Linked DNA regions of Homo sapiens: all the other regions are linked to region 1. The links are contacts of gene promoters, found by promoter capture Hi-C in human tissues and cell types (Jung and others, 2019). All regions are on one chromosome and are shown on one strand. Each heading gives the region's core, a stretch centred on a gene start or on the middle of the fragment in contact. The rest is flanking DNA. Distances are from core to core; before and after follow the strand shown. Region 1 holds the start of ZNF559 (zinc finger protein 559). Region 2 holds the start of ZNF560 (zinc finger protein 560). Region 3 overlaps ZNF560 (zinc finger protein 560).

What was found. Contacts are between HindIII fragments. The study calls those that stand out against the background at their distance.
Region 2: the fragment with the promoter of ZNF560 here is called in contact with the fragment with the promoter of ZNF559 in region 1 in 2 of the 25 tissues and cell types used here (IMR-90 fibroblasts and adrenal gland).
Region 3: a fragment that was not itself captured here is called in contact with the fragment with the promoter of ZNF559 in region 1 in 2 of the 25 tissues and cell types used here (H1 embryonic stem cells and aorta).

What each region holds. Positions count from the first base shown.
Region 1 is chr19:9,322,534-9,325,952 of GRCh38, reverse strand. It overlaps ZNF559 (zinc finger protein 559), which reads right to left and starts at 1,774. Exons shown (of 7, transcript NM_032497.3): 1 at 1,725-1,774; 2 at 1,173-1,258. It overlaps ZNF559-ZNF177 (ZNF559-ZNF177 readthrough), which reads right to left and starts at 1,774. Exons shown (of 13, transcript NM_001384659.1): 1 at 1,725-1,774; 2 at 1,173-1,258. RefSeq lists a silencer at 1,371-1,510 and an enhancer at 1,681-1,930. The HindIII fragment of the contact is 8,356 bases long and covers 1-3,419 here.
Region 2 is chr19:9,497,016-9,500,434 of GRCh38, reverse strand. It overlaps ZNF560 (zinc finger protein 560), which reads left to right and starts at 1,819. Exons shown (of 10, transcript NM_152476.3): 1 at 1,819-1,897; 2 at 2,220-2,307. The HindIII fragment of the contact is 15,358 bases long and covers 1-3,419 here.
Region 3 is chr19:9,469,602-9,473,020 of GRCh38, reverse strand. ZNF560 (zinc finger protein 560) reads left to right here. Exons shown (of 10, transcript NM_152476.3): 6 at 1,643-1,725; 7 at 2,503-2,629; 8 at 3,311-3,391. Among named protein-coding and RNA genes, the nearest start is that of ZNF560, 27 kb to the left of the region's middle. The HindIII fragment of the contact is 4,169 bases long and covers 1-3,419 here.

The sequences.
Region 1 (3,419 bases), core at 525-3,024:
GCTTGTCTTCACTTTCAGGAGGTATTTGAGATACACGCTTAAAAGGGGAAAGTTCATTCACTTCCAATTTAAATGGCTCATGATAAAGTACATATACAAAAAAATGAAACAAATCTTAACAACTAGTGAATGTAGTTAAGGGTTAAAGACTTTTTTTTTTTTTTTTGGAGACGGAGTCTCGCACTGTTGCCCAGGCTGGAATGCAAGGGTGCAATCTTGGCTCACTGCAACCTCTGCCTCCCAGGTTCAAGCGATTCTCCTGCCTCAGGCTCCTGAGTAGCTGGGATTACAGGTGCCCACGCCCGGCTAATTTTTTGTATTTTGAGTAAAGACGGGGTTTCACTATGTTGGCCAGGCTGGTCTCAAACTCCTGACCTCGTGATCCGCCAGCCTCAGCCTCCCAACATGCTGGGATTACAGGCGTGAGCCACCACACCTGGACTAAAGACATTTGTTTTACTCGAGCTACAGATGTTCTCTAGATCAGTATTTGTTTTTTTTTCTTCTTTTTGAAACAGGGTCTCACTCTGTTGCCTAAGCTGGAATGCAGTGACACAATAATGGCTCACAGCAGCCTCGACCTCCCATGCTCAAGTGATCCTCGCATCTCGGCCTCCAAAGTGGATGGGACCACAGACACCACCATGCCCAGCTAATTTTTTATTTTTAGTAGAGACAGAGGCTTGCCCTATTTTTTCCAGGTTGGCATCAAATTCCTGGGCTCAAGCGATCCTCCAGCCTCAGCCTCCCAAAACGCTGGGATTACAGGTGTGAGCCACCTTGCCCCGCCCTCAGTAAGACTTTCAAATGAGTAACTGGTAGAAAACCCACCTGTCAAAAGTTATCTTCGCATTCATTATCAATTCAATCCCTCCTGCTAGTAAATCAGCCCGCACCGTGTTCCTGGGGATGCCCTCGTTTTGAACCTCTGGGGGAATCTACAGGGCGCTAGAGTGAGATCTAGGTGATGGCCTGGAACCACAGTTGAGTAGTCCTGTGTTTTTCCTTGGTGGTAAATTTTACAGTTATGTGCATTCATCCACTCATGCATTCGATGGTATCAGATCCATGTGCTCTCGAACAACCACCTGAAAAGGTTTCTTTCCACCTCGACACAACTTAAACTTCAAGACCCGACACCCACAGCCAGAACAAGTGCATGAAGTGCTCACCGGGACACGACAGAATTGTCAGGTTGCTGAGGCCAGGAGGACACCAAGCGAAGGTCACCGTGAACAGGAAGGCAGAGATGCTGTTCCTTATAGAGAAAAGGCACAACGCTGGATGTGGAGACTTTTTTTTTTTTTTCCATTAGAGATGGTTGGGGGGGGGGGTCTCCCTATGTTGCCCTGCCTGGTCTTGAACTCCTGGCCTCAAGTAATCCTCCTACCCAATCCGCCCAAAGCGCTGGGAATGACAGGCGTGAGCCGCCGCGCCGGGCCCTATGAGGCTTCTGCAGAGGGGAGCAGGGAAAATGGAAAGGCCGTGCCCCCCGCCTCCTCCCGGGCCGAGGCCCCAGCGCAGCCGCCTCGACCCCTGAGGACAGACCTGACTGTGGCTCTCAGAGGAGGGGCCGCGACTTGGGAGAGCCCACAAGATGCTCGAAATGCCCGAAAGTGCACGGGACAGGCTCCATTTCACTGGGCACCTCCCCTTTCCACCCTTCTACTCTCGCGTGGCTGCACCGGGACACCACCGAACGCCGCCCAGAAACAAAAACTTACCTCAGACGCCAACGGGAACGCGCTGTTAAGATGGCGGCCGTTATGCGCATGCGCCCACGCAGACACGCCGCGCACGCGCAAAGGCTAGGACCACCTAGGGGGCGGGGCCTCGGGTTCCCGGGCCCATCAGCTGCTGCGGCTTTTTCCAACCCAGAGCTGAGAGGAAATGCTGTTTACCTCCCCGAAGAGCGCAAGTGTCACCGGTAGGGGGTCTTGACTGCAAGCTGTCCAGGTTACTGGCGTTTTGAACAAAGAATTAGACAAAACGCCCAGCAAAGCAAAGAAAGAATGAAGCAACAAAAGAACAAGAGCTGGGATTTGTTGAAAACGAAAGCATACTCCACAGTGTGGGAACTGGCCAAGCGGCAGCTCAAGGGCTCCGAAACAGAACCTTCATGAGTCCCAATACCTCCTAGAATTTTCCCATTGGCCACTTCATGCTCACCTCCTGTAAATGAAGCGGTAGCCCGCGTTCAGTCTGATTGGTTGCAGAAAGCAGCCAACCAGAGTCTGAAGTTACAAAGGTCACACTCCTGTGCAAACATCTGATTGGTTGCAAAAAGCAACCAATCAAAGGCTAGGGTGAAGTTACGACGTTACAAAGTTACACTTCTATGCAAATGAAGACTCAACCGGCCATCAGTCTGATTTGTTGCAGACAGCCAATTTCCTATCTGCCAGCAGAAAAGGTCAAAGGGAGTAGCCTCTGGTCCTTTTGTTATTTAGGCGAGGAAAGTGAGGGTTTTCCTTTCAATTTAGTTCTAGGAAGTCGGCCTGAAACAGCCTTAAGTTCCCTGCCTCCCGACTCTATTCAGCCTCACAAGGGCTTGATTTTTGGTCATCTCACACTCAGAGACTAGAATGCTCCTATTGGAATTTGTTCAAAAATTAGCACATAGAGGCTGGGCCTGATGGCTCACGCCAGTGATCCCAGCACTTTGGGAGGCTGAGGCAGGCAGACCACTTGAGCTCAGGAGTTCGAGACCAGCCTGGGCAATATGGCAAAACCCTATTCCTATAAAAAAGACAAAAAACACAAAAATTAGGACGTAGTTAAGAGCATAGATAAGATTCATGCGGACTTCCTAAAAGTGAAAACACCAAGATCTGGGGTCGGGGAATCTAAGGCCAATTCGTGATAATTTCCTAAAGTTAAATCAAAGGAAAAACACCTGGGGCTGGGGGCAGGGCACCTAAGGCCAATTAACACAAACTTCCTGAAGCTAAACCAAAAGGAAAAACCCCATCTCCCCAAGATCAAAGACTACTCTCTCTACAGTAAAAAGTAAAGTAGAGGTTCCTCTTCAAAGACTTTCCTGCCCATCTAATTAGGAATAAATAGTAACTTCTGTTAGAAGCAAAATTTATTCAAAGACCTGTACTAATGTGTCCGGAATTGGTGGGTTCTTGGTCTCACCGACTCCAAGAATGAAGCCGGGGACCCTCGTGGTGAGTGTTACAGATCTTAAGGTGGCACGTCTGGAGTTTGTTCCTTCTGATGTTCGGATGTGCTCGGAGTTTCTTCCTTCTGGTGGGTTCGTGGTCTTGCTGGCTCAGGAGTGAAGCTGCAGACCTTCGCGGTGAGTGTTAGAGCTCTTAAAGCGGCGCGTCTGGAGTTGTTCATTTCTCCCGGTGGGCTCGTGGTCTCGCTGGCTTCAGGAGTGAAGCTGCAGACCTTCGCGGTGAGTGTTACAG
Region 2 (3,419 bases), core at 570-3,069, 170 kb before region 1:
TCAACATTCTACAGGAAATTCTTTTTTTTTTTTTTTTTTTGAGATGAAGTTTTGCTCTTGTCACCCAGGCTGGAGTGCAATGGAGCCATCTCCACTCACTGCAAACTCCGTAACCTCCGCCTCCCAGGTTCAAGTGATTCTCCTGCCTCAGCCTCCCGAGTAGCTGGGATTACAGGTGCCAACCACCACGCCTGGCTAATTTTTTGTATCTTTAGTAGAGACGGGGTTTCACCATGTTGGTCAGGCTGGTCTTGAACTCCTGACCTCAGGTGATCCACCCACCTCGGCCTCCCAAAATGTTGGGATTACAGGAGTGAGCCACCGTGCCCAGCCTCTACAGGAAATTCTAGCCAGAGCAATTACACAAGAAAATAAAATAAAAGGTTTCTCAATTAGAATAGAACAAATAAAAATATATTTATAGGTGATATTTGATATATAGAGAATTTTGAAGAATCTACAAGAAAACTAGCAGAGCTTGTAATAAATTCCGTAAAGTTGCACAGTACAACATCAAGAGATGAAAATTAGTTTTGTATCTATACACCAGCAATGAACAATCAGAAAAGGAAACTGAGAATGTGATCCCTTTTACAAATAAGTTACATGGGAATAACTTTACCCCAAGAGGTAAAATATTTGTAAACTGAAAATTTCAAAACATTACTGAAAGAGTTTAAAGAAGACCTAAATAGAGAGATATTGTATATTCACACATAGGAAGACTCAGTATTATAAAGATACCAATATAACCCGAAGATTCAACTAAATCTCTACCACAAGTCCAACAGTCCTTTCTTTTTCTGCACAGAATAAGTGAAGAATGCCTGGTATCAGTGTTATTTCATAAAGTAGTACAGGAGGCTTTGAATCATTTGATAAGATTTGAGAAATAGTAACAAATACATTGTTGAAGAAGAAAAAAAAATACAATAAGGCCAGGCATGGTGCATGATGGCTCACGCCTGTAATCCCACTTCGGGAGTGCAGGGCGGGCAGATCACTTGAGCCCAGGAGTTCCAGACCAGCCTGGGCAACATGGTTAGATCCTGTCTCTACAAAATAATAATAATGATGATAATAATAATAATACAAAAATTAGCCGGGTGCGGTGCGCCCGTGGTCCCAGCTACTCGGGAGGCTGAGGTGGAAGGATGGCTTGAGCCTGGAGAGGTGGAGACTGCAGTGAGCCGTGTTCCTACCACTGCATTCCAGCCTTGGCAACCGAGCCAGACCCTACCTCGAAGAAAAAAAGAAAAGAAAAGAAAAAAGAAAGAAAAGAAAAAAATTGCAATATTTACAGAAAGTATCGATAACTGAAAACGCAGAGGAATCAATGATTAGAGTTTAGCAAGGTCAGATAAATAAAAAGAAATAAGAGAAAATAAAGTTCTAAAGACGTGATCGAATGCAGGAAGCAGGCCATTTTGTGGATTGGCAGGTTATCAACTGGAGAGAATCCTGAAAGGGGTCCAGGAACGTGGGGAAAGTTTCTAATGAGCATCCTGAGGGGCGAGTCCATCGCCCGACGTTTCGCCTTCCTGGTCCATTCTGCCACCGAAGCCACCGGCTGGGTCTGGTCCCACCTCCAGCCCCGCCCCCGGGCATGGGCCCCGCCCACAGCCCTGATTTAACCCCCACCTTTCTCTGTGGGTCCATTTCTCTCTTGCCCACCCAGGCACTGAGCCGACCCCTTGATACCTCCGCACCCACGCGGAGGGAAACTAGAATCCTGAAGAGTTCCATCCTGTCCAACTGCCCACACAACGAGCCACGCCCCTTCCAATGCCCCAAACGGAAGTGACGTTGCGGCGCGCCAGTTCTCTCTTTTGGTCGCTGGCGCCTGTTTCCTCAGAGCCACTTTTTCCTTTGTGTTGTCTGGTCGTTCACTACTTTGGTGAGGCTCGTGTGGACTAGTGGGTTGGGCGGTGTTTCGGGGGGTGGCAGAGGTCACAATCGACCCAGGGTAATCGAGGAACCTCCTTACAGAGGCCTGGACCACTCCACAGGAGTCCGCAGGAGTCGCGGAGCCATCGGGTGAGGCCACGTCGAAGAGGCCATTGGGACCTTCGGTCCCCTAGAGGAGCCGGGTGGGAAGTGCAGTATGGGCGCGTCCGAGGGCTGTTTTCAGCCGTGTGTTCCCGTCTTCAAAAGTGTCCAAGCGTTCTGAGGCCTTAAAAAATAAGTCTCCAAGGCAACGTTTGTGAATTGTGTTTCAGAGGGAAAAGAATTTTGCCGTTCGCGTTCGATTGACTCCGTCCCCAAGATCCTGTAGCCCCACGGACCTGGCGACTCCACCGTGTTCGGGTGAGCATTGGGAAAAAGTTGGTTTAAGGGGGCAGCTGCTTCCTTTTTTATGCAAACGAGTGTTTCATGTGAGATTTTGGCATTTTGCCTTTGTGAAACCTGTATATTTTTTATTGACACATTACGTTCCGGTAGAAAGGTGCTTTCTTAGTTGTCTAGGGTGTGCGTATTTCTGCATGTGCATATAAACGTTTGTAGACCGCGAGTCTTTCTACTAAAGAAACCTAAGAATACTCAGCCATTCTTTTCATCTGAAGTTCCTAGCTCTGTACGTCTCCAAAGAGCTTCATAACCAGGCTTCCTGGAAGAAAGGATGGAGGGTTTACACACTAATACTAGAATAATCGAATTTACCATTAACAGGATGACTGTACTAAGTGTATTTTTCCCGCATTTTTTTTCGAAAAAACTTAAACCTATGGGTATGTTGACCATCCAGTACCACGAATAAATATCCATTGTAGCTGCACCTGTTTTTTAGCGTTTTGTGTATTCGCCGTCTCGTAAATAAATTTTATGGTGAACAGTTTGAGAGTCAATGGGAAATTCATTGCAGAGATGAAGCTCGACATTTTTTTTTTTTTTTTTTTTTTGAGAGGGGGTCTAGCTGTGTCGCCCAGGCTGGAGTGCAGTGGCGCGATCTCGCCTCACTGCAACCTCTGCCTCCCGGGTTCAAGCGATTCTCCTGCCTCAGCTTCCCAAGTGGCTGTAATTACAGGGGTGTGCCACCGTGCCCGGATAATTTTTTGTATTTTTGTAGAGATGGGGTTTCACCGTGATAGCCAGGATGGTAAGCTCGACATTTAAGTAGTGGGTAATGCCTGACTCAATGATAAGAGTGTTGTTTTACTAAAACCGTAATACTATTTGCATCAAGAAAATTAAAAATAATAATGTTATCTAATATTTACTATGTATAATAAATGAAAATTCTCCAAATTCTTCTAAAATATAACGGAATGTTTTTGGATCTGAGCTCTATTCAAGATTTTTTTTTTTTGAGAGTTTTTTTGAGGCAGGATGTTGCCTTGTTGCCCAGGCTGGAGTGCGGTGGCATGATATTGGCTCACTGCAACCACCGCTTACCACGCCCAACTTTGTGTTTCTGTGCC
Region 3 (3,419 bases), core at 430-2,929, 150 kb before region 1:
AAAGCATGGTTCTGACATCTGCTTCAGGTGAGAGCCTCAGAAACCTTACAATCATGGCAGAAGGCAAAGGAGGAGCAGACAAATTACATGATGAGAAAGGGAGTAAAAGAGAAGTTGGGGGTGGTGTCATAGTGTTTTAAACCAGCAGTCCCCAGCCTTTTTGGCATCAGGGACCAGTTTCATGGAAGACAATTTTTCCACAGACCAGGTCTCAGGGATATTGTTTCAGGATGATTCAGGTGCATTACATTTATTGTGCACTTTATTTCTACTATTATTACATTGTAATATATAAGGAAATAATTATACAACTCTACCATAACTCTACTGTAATGAAATAATTATACAATTCTACCATAATGTAGAATCAATGGGAACCCTGAGGTTGTTTTCCTGTAACCAGATGGTCCCATTTGGGGATCTGGGGGTGATGGGAGACAGTGACAGATCATCAGGCATTAGATTCTCAAAAGGAGCGCGCAAACTAAATCCTTCGCATGCACAGTTCATGATAGATTTTGCTCTTTTATGAGAATCAAGTGCTGCCGCTGATCTGACAAGAGGCGGAGCTCAGGAGGCAATTAGGATGGAGAGCAGCTATAAATACAAATGAAGCTTCACTTGCTCTCCTGCCACTCACCTCCTGTGCTGTGGCCTGGTTCTGGTCCATGGCTCCGGAGTTGGAGACTCCTGTTTTAAACTACCAGGTCTCACATGAATTCAGAACAAGAACTCACTTATTACTCCGAGTATGTCACTAAGCCATTCATGAAGGACCCACCCCCATGATCCAAACATCTCCCACCAGGCCCCACCTCCAGTATTTGGCGTTGCATTTCCATATGAGATTTGGAGGGAACTAACATCCAAACCATCAGAAACATAATGAGGGAACTTTTTTTTTTTTTTTTGAGACGGAGTCTCACTCTGTCCCCCAGGCTGGAGTGCAGTGGCACGATCTTGGCTCACCGCAACCTATGCCTCCCAGGTTCATGCCATTCTCCTGCCTCAGCCTCCCGAGTAGCTGGGACTACAGGTGCCTGCCAACATGCCCGGCTAATTTTTTGTATTTTTAGTAGAGATGGTGTTCCACCGTGTTAGCCAGGATGGTCTTCATCTCCTAACCTTGTGATCCGCCCACCTCAGCCTCCCAAAGTGCTGGGATTACAGGCGTAAGCCACCACACCCAGCCCTCTGAGGGAACTTTTTAAGATGCACCTTCTCTCACAAGGTTAAGGCCATTTATCTCAGAAGTTAGAAAATATTCAATTTTTGATACTCTTTAAATTTCCATCTACTCCAACTTTCTATGATCTTATGAAACTATATATTTTGTTTTTCAAGTTCTTTGCTTTGAAATATGGCTTTGGCCCAGATCTTTCCTACTTTTCTGATAACATTCTTTCTGTTTAACATTAGTTTTAAATCTAAATGAGTCAATTTGTAGCAAATTAGCTAAAATTTTGACCCTTTAATCTCATTATTGCCAATTTTTTGACACAGTCTAAATGTTCAATTTAGCTTTCTTTTTTCTTATGTTTATTTTAAAAACAAATATGAATGAGGCCTATAATTTTTAACTCTTTCATTTTACCTTTTTTTTTAAAAAAAAAAAAAACCTCAGTTTATGTTTTTGTTTCAGACTGGGCAATAAAACATCAAACCAGTGTTTCAGCACTGCAGCAGGAGTTTTGGAAAATACAAACTTCTAATGGGATACAAATGGTAATGTTAAGAAAGGGTATTTCTTATTTTTCACACTCAGAGAATATTGGGACTTCCAATATAGAAAATAAGCACAAAAGATAATTGAGAGGAATAGCATTCACTCAAGAGGGAGCAATGTCTCTGGAGAGATGCTCTGATAATGATGAATTTGGGGAGATCTAAACTTAGTGTGAAAGTTGTATCCTTCTAAAATTGGAGTAATGATATCAACAAAGACTCATTTTCTTGTAGGTACTCCTGTCTGTATTCTTCCTTAAAGCAAATATAGACCCTAGTTGAATTTTTCCCAGAAAGTCATACCTCTCATATTGGTGAGGAATTACCCTGGAAATTATCTCAGTATTTTTGTATTTATGAATTAGTGTTCATTTTCCTGGTGCCAACTGCATATTTATTTTTCTGGGTGCTAGGACAGATGGTAAGGGGTATGAAAGTGTTCTTTTCTTAAGGAATTTATCCATATCCTCATTTATCAAGTATTTGTTATGTGCTCAGGAGTGTTTTGCAGTAGAGAGGAATCAAATGAGATGAGCTCCCGGTCTAGTTGTGGTTGATAAGTTTCTGTGTAAGAGGTTCTGTTACAGCCATGTTATTGGAGGAAATTGACAGTGAGTGAATGTGGATAGAAGAGTTCCTAGGGCCACTGAACCTTGGGGTGTAGATAGTGGGAGCACTCAGTACCCTGTACAGGGATTGGGTCCCCCTTCCTCATTCTTCAGCCAACATTGGTGGAGATGTTGCTTGGCTCAAATCAGCATGTGTCTGATGGTTTAGGACCTGGTAACCTTTGACAGTGTGGCTGTGGAGTTCACCCAGGAAGAGTGGACTTTACTGGACCCAGCTCAGAGAAACCTGTACAGTGATGTGATGCTGGAGAACTACAAGAACCTGTCCTCAGTAGGTAAGTCTGGCATCATCCCTTGTAGCCTATTCTGGAACAAGATACAAATTATGTACTTACTGTATTCTAGGATTAGTGATGTCAAATCTGAATACAGTGGGATATATACACACTGAAAAAAAATTTTTTTTAATGAGTAAAATAGGAAATAACAGAGACAGTTCCTGTACTAATGGGTTTTAATCTTGTATGGTAGTTTGCGTCAGTAGCATCACCATCACTGTCTTAGATATGTGTACATTCTCAGACTCGATGTACTAAATCAAAAAGTCTGCTGTTGGGGCCCTGTATTCAGATGAGTAATTCACTCTAAAGTTCAGAACTACTGGAATGGGAGTTTTCCCAGGAGAATCAAGATCTCTCTTTGAGCTTCCATTAGTTTCTATTTTAATAAAGGTTTTAGTGGTTTTTAGAATTTGTATTTAACATTTGCCATTTAGAAAGAAAAAGTGCAGCTCACTGCTAGTGCTTGTTTCTTGGGGCAAACAGGAAATGAGTTAAGCTTGAATGTGAATTTCAGAGGTCAGAGATAACCAGTGTCTTCAGAGAACAGAAAGATGGGATATATGCAATTTAAGTGCTTTTCACTGCTTTAATTAGAAACGTAGTCCCTGTTTCATGGAAAAGTTTGCCATTTCTTGCATGAGCCTCTTCCATTGGTGTATCTTTCCCTGTGTACAGGTTACCAGCTCTTCAAACCCAGTCTGATCTCTTGGCTGGAGGAAGAGGAAGAGTTGAGCACACTGCCAAGAGTTCTCCAAGGTGAGTGTTTGTGAAGAACAACCCTGGT